3 separate regions of the Homo sapiens genome follow, and all the other regions are linked to region 2. Evidence: promoter capture Hi-C in human tissues and cell types (Jung and others, 2019). All regions are on one chromosome and are shown on one strand. The core of a region is centred on a gene start or on the middle of the fragment in contact, and the rest is flanking DNA. Distances in the headings are between cores, read along the strand shown.

Region 1 (3,589 bases), core at 942-3,441, 110 kb before region 2:
CAGTTTCAGGTCAGTGAGGAGGGGCAGCTGCAATGGATGAGGGGCTCCTCCAGAGGAAAGAGTCCACCTGGGGAGGGAGGGTGATGGAAGCCAAGAAGACGGTGTTTCCAGAAGGGAGCAATTAACCATGTCGATGCTGCCAAGGGGCTGGGATGAGGACAGAGATAGGCCGTTGGATTTGGCCACATAGCAACCAGCAATGGCCGTGACAAGAGAAGTGTTAATGGTGCCTGGGGTTGGATGCTTGAGTGGAGCAGGTTGAAGAGTGAATGGAGAAGAGGAAGTGGAGGCAGCAAAGAGGAGAGAAGAGAGGCAGTGTCTAGAGAGCAACGAGGGCTCAAGGCAGGGTTCTGATTTGTAAGATGAAAAAGACAAGCACTTGGGTGCTCCTGAGGATGATTCAGTAGAGGGGAGGCGTGGTAGCTATCTGAAAGAACACCTCAAACTTCGTGTGCCCCAAGATGGAGACTCCGTCTCTCCAGCATGTGTCTGCACCATGATACACTCACACTAGAGAACGGTACCTCCAGGCCCCTGGGTGCTCCTGAGATGATTCAGTAGAGGGGAGGCACGGTAGCTATCTGAAAGAACACCTCAAACTTCGTGTGCCCCAAGATGGAGACTCCGTCTCTCCTCCAGCGTGTGTCTGCACCATGATACACTCACACTAGAGAATGGTACCTCCAGGCCCCTGGGTTCTCCTGAGATGATTCAGTAGAGGGGAGGCACGGTAGCTATCTGAAAGAACACCTCAGACTTCGTGTGCCCCAAGATGGAGACTCCGTCTCTCCTCCAGCGTGTGTCTGCACCATGATACACTCACACTAGAGAACGGTACCTCCAGGCCCCTGGGTGCTCCAGCCAGAGCTCCAGGATGCACCAGTGATGCCTCCCTTTCCTCACTTCCCACATTCCCTGCACCTCGAGTCCCATCTGTTCTTCCTCTAAGATGCAGCTGGATCATTCATTCAGTTTGTTTCCACTGCTCCTGCCTTAGCCCAAGCCCCATTATCTGTAGCTTGGACCTCTGCAGTAGCATCCTAACTGGGCCCCTGCTTCTGTCTTCTTCCCTGCCCCTCTGCCATTCATTTTCTCTCCAACAGCCAGGGAAATCTTCTTAGAACAAACAGGACCCTGTCGCTCCTCTGATCATACCCTCTATTGTGTCCCAGTGCATTCAGGATAAACTCCCAAATCCTTCTCATGACCCACAAAGCTGACAGACTGAGCCCTGGCTGCTGCCCCACAGTCACCATTCTCCCTGTTACTGTCTGCACTGCAACCTTGCGGACCCTGCCTAGGTCCTTGAAGCTCCTCCCTGCCGTGAGCCTTTGCATATGCTTCCTCCCTTAGCCCACCTGACAGCTCTCCCCTCTCTCCTTCCTTTGGCCACCTCCTACTCATCTTTCAGGCCTCAGCTCAAATGCCATGTCCCCAAAGAGTCCTTTCCAGACATACAATATAAAATATATCTCCTTTGTCCTCTCCTGGAACCGTCGTTTCCCTACATAGAACTCATCATGACTATAGGTAAAGAATTATTTTTGACTCTGTGTTCAATGCCTGTCTCTCCCACCAAGACAGAGACTGTGTTGCTGGCCACTTACACCAGGTCCCGAGCACAGCCTTGCACACGGGGCCACTCAGTGCTCGTTGCTGAAAGAGTCAACCAGCCACTGCCACAGGGCACAAAAAGCACCAGAAAGGGGAAGGCAGGAGGTCAGCGATATGGACCCTGCTGTGGGCTCCAGGTGCCCAGGCCAGCTCTGAACCTGCAGGGTGACCACAGAGCCCCCGTGCTGACTGCCCACGCATGCACCAAGAGGCTCTCCTGTGTAACTGTGTCCACGGGCTTCTCCTTGGCCTCTCACAGGTCCCCACCAAGCCATCTGGGTAAGATCACAGCCCCTAGGAAGACATGCATTAGTGCCAGCCACTGAGCAGCAGAGAGCCAGGGAGAGGTGAGGGAGAGGAGGGCACAGGGGACCACCTGCCCCAGGAGATGTCAGCAAGGAATGAGATGTGTGCAGCACGCCTGTAGGGCTGGCTGTCTAGTGTACTTCAGTCTCATATGTAATAAAAACATAATGGTACAATGGTTCATATTGCACAAGCTTGAGAAGATGAGGTCATTGCACACATAGTGAAGCACTTAGAGCCATACTCAGTACAGAGAGCTCAGAGGGAACTCCCCCGACTTGAGTAAGGGACCTCCCTGCCACCCCACACACACACAGGAGTGAAGAGAAGAGAGCCCAGTGGGGCAGGGAGAGGCCTCACAAGATTAGGAAGCTGAAAGCCTGCTCTCCCTAGCTGTGGGAGCATGGGGCCAGCCCTACGTGGCATTAGTTTTGTCTTCTGTAAAATGGGGAGATGATACACCAGAAAAGACCACCCGGGAATGTGTGGTGCTCTTTACCTTAAAGATGACCAATGAGGAGAGATGACTCCAGGCCACCCTGGGTGGAGGCTGCAGCATGGATTTGGTAAACTGCCCACACTCAGCTCCCCAAGAGGATTCCAGGGCAGCAAAGAAGGCTGGAAAGTGGGAATTAGGAGTGCTGGTAGACACTGCAAAATAAGAGAAGCAGCAGGACAGAGAGTGAGAGAAGGGGAGGGAGCAAAAGAGGGCACGGTGCAAGCAGAAGCTTATGCTCAGGGAGTGAACAGAGGAGGCTCATGCTGTAGAGGGCCGAGGCTTATAGGTGCTTCCAGGGGGACACGGACCCTGGAATGAGCAGGGCTTATGGTAGACAGCACAGTCCCACCCCCAGCCACCTTCCCCAGGATGACACAGGCCCCATCAGGAACGCAAACAGTGATCAGTGATTCCCCCTAGAGGAGGGTGGGGATGAAGCCACCAGCCAGCCAGGAGTGCTGCTGCGGGTCGTCTGCCCCCTGCCGTTGGGAGCGTCTGCAGTGCTTCAGAGATGGCCCGTGCCTCCGGGTGCCAGTCCTGAGAGGTCACCTGGTCCAACCCCCAGCTCTCCAGTGAGGAAGTGCCTTCCTCAGGCAGGAGGGTAGAGTGTCCCACCACTCAGCACAGCTTCCTCCCTTCCAGCTAGGGATTTCACAGCCAGAAAATGTCATTTTTTCCCCCAGGGTCTGAGAAACCCAGAATAGCACCTGTTCATGAAACACAGATACCCTGTGGTGGCAAATGCAGTGAGGGGAGGAAGGCAGGACGGCAGGTGCATAGCCAGGGGAAGAACTACATCTGTTTATGCCTCCATCCACCCCTCCCTCACCACCCCCATGCAAAAGCAGCCCCGATAGCCAGGTGGGGACACATGCCCCTAAGGACGGCTGCCTGGTGGCCTGTGAGTTGCTGGACTCACTTTAAAAGCCGCAGTGAGGCCTACCCTTGCACTCAGCTCAGTCTTTGGTTTCACAATTTAGGAACAACCGGGAGATCTTGCAGAGAATGCTGATTCCCAGGACTTGCCCCCAAATATTCTAATTTGCTGGGTCTGGGGTGGGGTCCAGCGAGCTGCATTTTAACAAACCACCTTATGACTCCGCTGTGGGGTCCTGAGAGCACACACTGGAAGATGTTGGATGAGAGGCCCTTCCAGCTCCACAGCCCAAG
Region 2 (3,237 bases), core at 150-2,649:
TAGGTTCACTGGTGTGTCTACTAAAAGCATCTTCTAATGACTCTGCCTTGATTTTGCAGAGTGGCCTCTTTTCTGGAGAAGGAGGCAGATGGACTTTTTTCTAAGCCTCAAGCAAAGTTCATGTTAACAGAACTTTCTCAGCAGTAACCTCTTCTGGCCACAGACTCTACTTTGGCTCTGACCCAGAAAATTAGAAAGTCAGTGAACAGGCCGGGTGCAATGGCTCACGCCTGTAATCCCAGCACTTGGGAGGCCGAGGCGGGTGGATCTCCTGAGGTCAGGAGTTTGAGACCAGCCTGGCCAACATGGTGACACCCCGTCTCTACGAAAAGTACAAAAATTAGCTGGGCATGGTGGCAGGCACCTGTAATCCCAGCTACTCAGGAGGCTGAGGCAGGAGAATCGCTTGAAACCAGGAGGCAGAGGTTGCAGTGAGCCGAGATCGCGCCACTGCACTCCAGTCTGGGCAACAAAGCGAGACTCTGTCTCAAAAAAAAGAAAAAAAAAAAAAGTCAGGGAACAGCAGGCATCTATGTTTATCTGATAAATTAGGGAATGAGCTCCTTTCTACAAAGGAGAAACTCAAGTAACTGGTCCCAAGAGGGCTCCTCAGTCCTTTTGGGAAGGTTGTCTAAGGTACTGACTGTGCTGGCCTCCCCTCCCTTTACCAGCTGATGGATCTCTCCCAGTGATGGAAAGCCTTCCCTTCTCCACCCTCCCAGACCCTAGGAGAAACAGTAGCCTTCTCCTGGCTCCCTTAGCCTCATTAGAGCTGCTTCTCAGAGGTAGCATGTTGTGTCTGAAAGGTCATGAGCTGTAGAGTCAGATGAGGCCAGGTTCAAACATTAGTTTTTTCTCATACCAATGTCTGACTTCAGAGAAGTTAATGAATGACTCTGAGCCTTAGTTTGTTCATCTGTAAAAGTGGGGATGATAGATAGGATATACTTAGCTATAAGAATTAAATGAGGAAATATACATATGTATACACACTTAATAGAATAACAGGTACTCAAATTTTTGTTTTCTTTCAGTCCTGTCAGAGTTGATCATTGTTCTCTTTTCTCAGAGAAGAAAGACTTTGTTTTCTTGGAGTTAAATCCAGTTGTCTTTCCTCTCAATCTAGGGCTCTCTCTTTCCAAATCACAGTGTCACTTAAGTCAACAGCCACCCAAGTTTCAGAAAGTCAAGAAAATAGCACATAATCTTTGCATTTGCACACATACATGTCAGAAGCGTACTTTCTAGGCGAGGGTAAGAAAAAAGTCCTTTGGTTGTAAGTCCCATGGATCCCACCAACCTGCAGTCTGAGACGCAGAAATAGAAAAAAAAGAGAAGAAAACATTTCGAACCTTAGTGAAGCTGCTGCCAGAGGTCCAGTCAGGGGAGAAGAATTATCTAAGGGGGAAGGAGAAGGTGCTGGCTATTTAAAGTGTGGTTCCAGAACGCCTCTGTGGCACTTGAAATTCTAAACTTGGCCCAGCCCACATTCCACCCTTGTGCCTCCCCCTCCCCTTTTCTCCCCTCCCCTCCCCTCGGCCACTGGACAACCCACACATGAGTGATTTCGCAGTCTGGGGAGTGTGCACGCCCTGGCAGGTCGGGCCAGTTGCTGGTGAGCTTATGAAGTGTGGTCTCCTCCCCGGAGCTCATGTGCGCTTCCCACCTGGTGAGCTCAGGGTCTCTCTGGAGGGATCCTGCCTCCCACCCCTGTCTCCAACACAAGTGCTCCTATAAATCCATCAAGAATAGGTATTCCTTTGGTCAGGTGCTGTGTAGATTAATTTAAAAATACATTTATCTTACCGTTTCGCAGCTTGCAATGTGGAATGGACGATGATTTAGAACAAAGATACATAGATACAGAACTCTGAGATGTCAGAAAAACTTCCCAAACATACACAGACATTTATACACATATAGAAAAAGTCTGAAAAAATCTTCGCTAAATGATTAATAGTAGTTACATTTGTAGAGTGGAACTGAGATCAGGAGATGGCAGTAAGGGAGATTTTTTCCCCACTTTTTCAATATTGTTTAGATTTTTTAATATGCTAGAATTTTAAAATATTTTTTAAATCAATAGAGAAAAGGAAGTGCCAACGTTTAAAATAAAGCAAAGCCCTAAAGCTGTTATAAGGGAAGGAGCAGGCGGTGAGCGCGAGGCCGAGGTCATCCAGGGAGCTTCGTTTCTCTGCAGGAACAGCCCACAGAGGCGGCTGTGAGAGTAGTTCATTCAGCCTGGAGTCTAGGACAGGGCAGAGTCCCACCTCAGCCATGTGCTGAAGCACAGTACATGTAGTGGAAACCTGCTCAGACTTTGACACCAGAGAGTGTGGGGTCTGAGTCCTACGTATGCCACTGTCTAGCTTGAGATTTCAGGAGATGATGACTAACTGTAAATGGCAGCTGTTATTCATCCTTAAGGGATTATTCACAGTGAGCAGTGAGCCCGGAAGTCTTCTTGAAGGAGACGGGACTGAGAGACCCCTGAGCTAAGCTGGGCTCTGGCCAGACTGTGAGAATGAGTTAGGTAGGGGATGCGGCAATGAGTGAGTGAGGTGATAGAGACATCTTGAGATGACGGAGAAGTGTGGAAAGAAAGACGGATCGAAGAGTCTAAGGTAGTTTCCGTTTCCTTGATCCCTCATCTAACTCAAGGGCATGGGGTAGGGGCATGGAAACACTGCATGGTAATACCTGGAGAGCTTCCCAGAAGCTTCTTGGAAATTATTATTCTTATGTTTCAGCGGCCCCTGTTCCTCTCCCCTTTCAAGCTTTCATCTGTTAGACTGAGCTCTGTAAAGCAATAAACCAAAAGCGTCCTGAGACAGCCTACAAACTCATGTAAAAAAAAGACCATCTTCAAAGCAGTGCTATTGACTTCCATTTTTACGTATCACTGAGTGGTACTTACTAATGGCCTACTATGCATTATAAACTTTGGCATTTGTAATCTAAAATTACCAGATAACGGGTGTTTTCTCAGATACCATTCAGCCTTTGGCAATGTTGCACAGCCCCTTCTGTGTCCTCACATATGCAAACGGTTGCAATTTCCAGCTTCCAGGAAAGACTGTCAGTGATAAGGACATCATCAGGCTTATCCTGAGTTGGTTGTGAGCTGCTGCTGTTGTATGAAGGAATGTTGGCTTTACTTACCAACTCTTTTGTTTTTACATAACTGCTGCCATGTTACCATGTTGACTCCTATTTTATTCCTCTCCAAATCTTTGT
Region 3 (3,631 bases), core at 336-2,835, 100 kb after region 2:
ATAATTAAAAAAACTGACAATACCAAGTGTTGACCAGGATGTGGAAAAACTAGAAGCCTCTACATTACTGGTGGGAAAGTAAAATGATTCAGCCATTTTGGAAAACAACTTGGCAGTCCTTAAAAATTTACACAGGCCGGGTGCGGTGGCTCACGCCTATAATCTCAGCACTTTGGGTGGCCAAGGTGGGTGGACCACTTGAAGTCAGGAGTTCAAGACCAGCCTGGCCAACATGATGAAACCCTGTCTCTACTAAAAATACAAAAATTAGCTGGGGGTGGTGGCATGCACCTGTAGTCTCAACTACTCTACTCAGGAGGCTGAGGTAGGAGAATCACTTGAAACCGGGAGGCGGAGGCTGCAGTGAGCCGAGTTCACGCCACTGCACTCCAGCCTGGGCGACACAGCAAGATTCCACCTCAAAAAAAAAAAAAATTTACACATAAACGGCCGGGCGCAGTGGCTCACACCTGTAATCCCAGCACTTTGGGAGGCCGAGGTGAGTGGATCACGAGGTCAGGAGATCGAGACCATCCTGGCTAACACGGTGAAACTCCGTCTCTACTAAAAATACAAAAAATTCTGTGGGCGTGGTGGTGGGCACCTGTAGTCCCAGCTACTCGGGAGGCTGAGGCAGGAGAATGGCGTGAGCCCAGGAGGCGGAGCTTGCAGCAAGCCGAGATCGCGCCACTGCACTCCAGCCTGGGCGACGGAGTCTCATCTCAAAAAAAAAAAAAAAAACAAACAAACAAATTTACACATAAACTTACTATATAACCCAGCAATTCCACTCCCAAGTACCTACCCAAGAGAAATGAAAACATATGTCCACTCAAAGACTTGTCTATGAATATTCATAGCATTATTCATAATAGCCATAAACTGGAAACAATCTAAAACTCCATCAACTGGTAAATGGATAAACAAAATGTGGTATATCCATTCAATGGAATATTATTCAGCCATAAAAATAAAGTACTGACACATGCTATAGCATGGCTGAACTTTTTTTTTTGAGACAGGGTCTCACTCTGTCACCCAGGCTGGAGTGCAGTGGCAGGATCTCAGCTTACTGCAACCTCCATCTCCCAGGCTGAAGCAATCATCCTACCACAGTCTCTGGAGTAGCTGGGACCACTGGCGCACACCACCATACCTGGCTAATTTTTTGTATTTTTAGTAGAGACAGGGTTTCACCATGATGCCCAGGCTGGTCTCAAACTTCTGGCCTCAAACGATCCACCCACCTCAGCCTCCCACAGTGCTGAGATTACAGGCATTAGCCACCGCATCCAGCCAACATGGCTGAACTCTGAAAACATTAGGCTAAGTGAAAAAAGCCAGACACAAAATCATATTGTATGATTACATCTAGGTGAAAGTTCTAGAAAAGACAAACTACAGAGCCAGAAAGCGGGTCAGGAATTGCCTGTGTGTGGGGGTGGTACAGGAACCAACTACAAATGAACAAGAGAATTTTGGGGGCTAGTGGAAGTGCTCTAAAACTGGATCACAGTGATCGCTGCATAAATGTAGAAATGTATTAAAGCTTACCAACGGTGCACCCACAAAGGGTGAATTCTATGGTATATAAATCATAACTAATAAAGCTGTTTTAGAAAAATTCATGAAACAAACAGGACTTTTTCAAAAAGTTTCAGTCATAAAGGTTTATTTTAAATAAATAAGAAAACATTCTTCATTTCCATTATTCTTTATCTTGTAAACCATCAAAAACAGCTATGATTTTTACACTATGATATACACTTTGCTTCCCCAAATTTTGGTGCCTGCTAACTTGGGTTAAACACAGTCTAAAGTTTGTACTTGGGCAAACTGGATTTATCAACTTTTTCTAAAAAGAATAATGCATCTCACCATAAGGCTCACACCAGACTGGAAAAGCTCATATGGGTAGAGAATTCTTTCATAATGTGACTTCAAAAGAGACCCAGTTCCTTTTCCTGGCAGATATCCCAAGCGACTACCCACTTTAGACCATTTCTTCTCTTTGGTGACCATTTCAAAACCTCCTTTGCTGGCAACAATCTGAAAAGAAAGTAAAAGTTGCTTAGAGAAAAAAGGCAAATTCAAGCATCTTGACTCTTAAGTCTTGTCTACTAAATAGAAAAATTATTCAGGGCTTAAATTTCAAATTTCCTTTCAATGAGTATCTAACCAAACTGACACTTGTCAACATTTAGAGTAAGAAATAGAAACAATGCTTTTCAGAGGTTTAAAATGTAATTAACATTATGCCTACCTTCAAACCAAGCATTCAAAAATATTTAATGAATACTCTGTACAGTACGCACTGTGAGAAAACTAAACACATGTACAGACAGACTACCTACTTAAGGAACTCACAATATGAAATAAGAATAAAAACAGATAAAAAATAGATATGAAAATAAATGTTATATAATACAAAATAAACATAAATCCTGAAATTAGAAATAACCAAGTAACTTACAGAACTTAACAAAAACGTCAATCAAACCATGAATACAGAGGACAGTTGTGAAAAACAGGCTATAATTTTTCAAAAGGGCAAGAGTTTTATATGGAAGATCATAAAGGAACACTGAAAAAGATTAGGTTGCAGTAGATTTACCGATACGGAGTACAGAATATATTAAGGTAGAAAACGATGAGATAAATTGGCTAACTTGGCTGAATGGTCACATCAAGCCAGGCACTCTACAGAATACATATTTCAAAGCTCCTTAACGTCCAGGAGCTGTTACTATACATCTCTTAGGCTCTAAAATACAGTCATGCACTGCATAACATTTTGGTCAAATATAGACCGCATATATGACAGTGCTCCCATAAGATTATAATACCATATTCTTACTGAACCTTTGTGTTTAGATACATACACAAATACTTACCATTGTGTTACACTGCCTACAGTATTCAGTAGAGTAACAGGCTGTACACCTTTAGGTCTAGGAGCAACAGGTTATACCACATAGCCTAGGTATGCAGTAGGCCATACCATCTGGGTTTGTATAAGTACATTCTATGTTTGCACAATAATGAAATCCTCATGTTTTTCAGAACATATCCCTGTCATTAAGTGACACGATTGTACAGGCAGTTTTCAATTTCACTGAGAATAAAGGGGACTGTGACACAGTGTTCAAACTCAGTTTCTCCTATTTGATTGAGTATATACTACTGTATCTTACTACATAAAAAAAAAGTTAAAGCCAGGCATAGTGGCTCACATCTGTAATTCTAACACTTTGGGAGGCCAAGGCAGGAGGATCACTTGAGCCCAGGAGTTTCAAACCATGCTGGACAATATAGTGAGGCCCCCATCTCTACAAAAAAATTTAAAAATTAGCTGGGCAGGTTGGGCAGGGTGGCTTATGCCTGTAATCCCAGGACTTTGGGAGGCAGAGCTGGGCAAATAGCCTGAGCTCAGGAGTTCAAGAGCAGCCTGCGCAACATAGTGAAACCCCATCTCTTCTAAAAAAATATACAAAGAATTAGCCAGACGTGGTGGTGCACACCTATAATCCCAGCTACTCAGGAGGCTGAGGCCCAAGAATCACTTGAACCCAGGAGGCAAAGGTTGCAGTTAGCTGAGATTGTGCCACTGCACTCCAGCCTGGACAGTAGA

Evidence for each region. The method cuts DNA at HindIII sites, captures the fragments that hold promoters and counts their contacts. A contact is called where the count stands out against the background at its distance.
Region 1: a contact is called between a fragment that was not itself captured here and the fragment with the promoter of SLC6A13 in region 2, in 3 of the 25 tissues and cell types used here (IMR-90 fibroblasts, liver and mesendoderm cells).
Region 3: a contact is called between a fragment that was not itself captured here and the fragment with the promoter of SLC6A13 in region 2, in 4 of the 25 tissues and cell types used here (IMR-90 fibroblasts, hippocampus, lymphoblastoid cells and 1 more).

What each region holds. Positions count from the first base shown.
Region 1 is chr12:150,478-154,066 of GRCh38, forward strand. The region is part of intron 5 of IQSEC3 (IQ motif and Sec7 domain ArfGEF 3); the gene reads left to right. Among named protein-coding and RNA genes, the nearest start is that of IQSEC3-AS3, 3.1 kb to the left of the region's middle. RefSeq lists an enhancer at 2,559-3,473. The HindIII fragment of the contact is 4,498 bases long and covers 1-3,589 here.
Region 2 is chr12:261,437-264,673 of GRCh38, forward strand. It overlaps SLC6A13 (solute carrier family 6 member 13), which reads right to left and starts at 1,400. Exons shown (of 15, transcript NM_016615.5): 1 at 1,353-1,400. The HindIII fragment of the contact is 8,106 bases long and covers 1-3,055 here.
Region 3 is chr12:364,056-367,686 of GRCh38, forward strand. It overlaps KDM5A (lysine demethylase 5A), which reads right to left. Exons shown (of 28, transcript NM_001042603.3): 4 at 1,879-2,049. Among named protein-coding and RNA genes, the nearest start is that of KDM5A, 23 kb to the right of the region's middle. The HindIII fragment of the contact is 3,397 bases long and covers 1-3,284 here.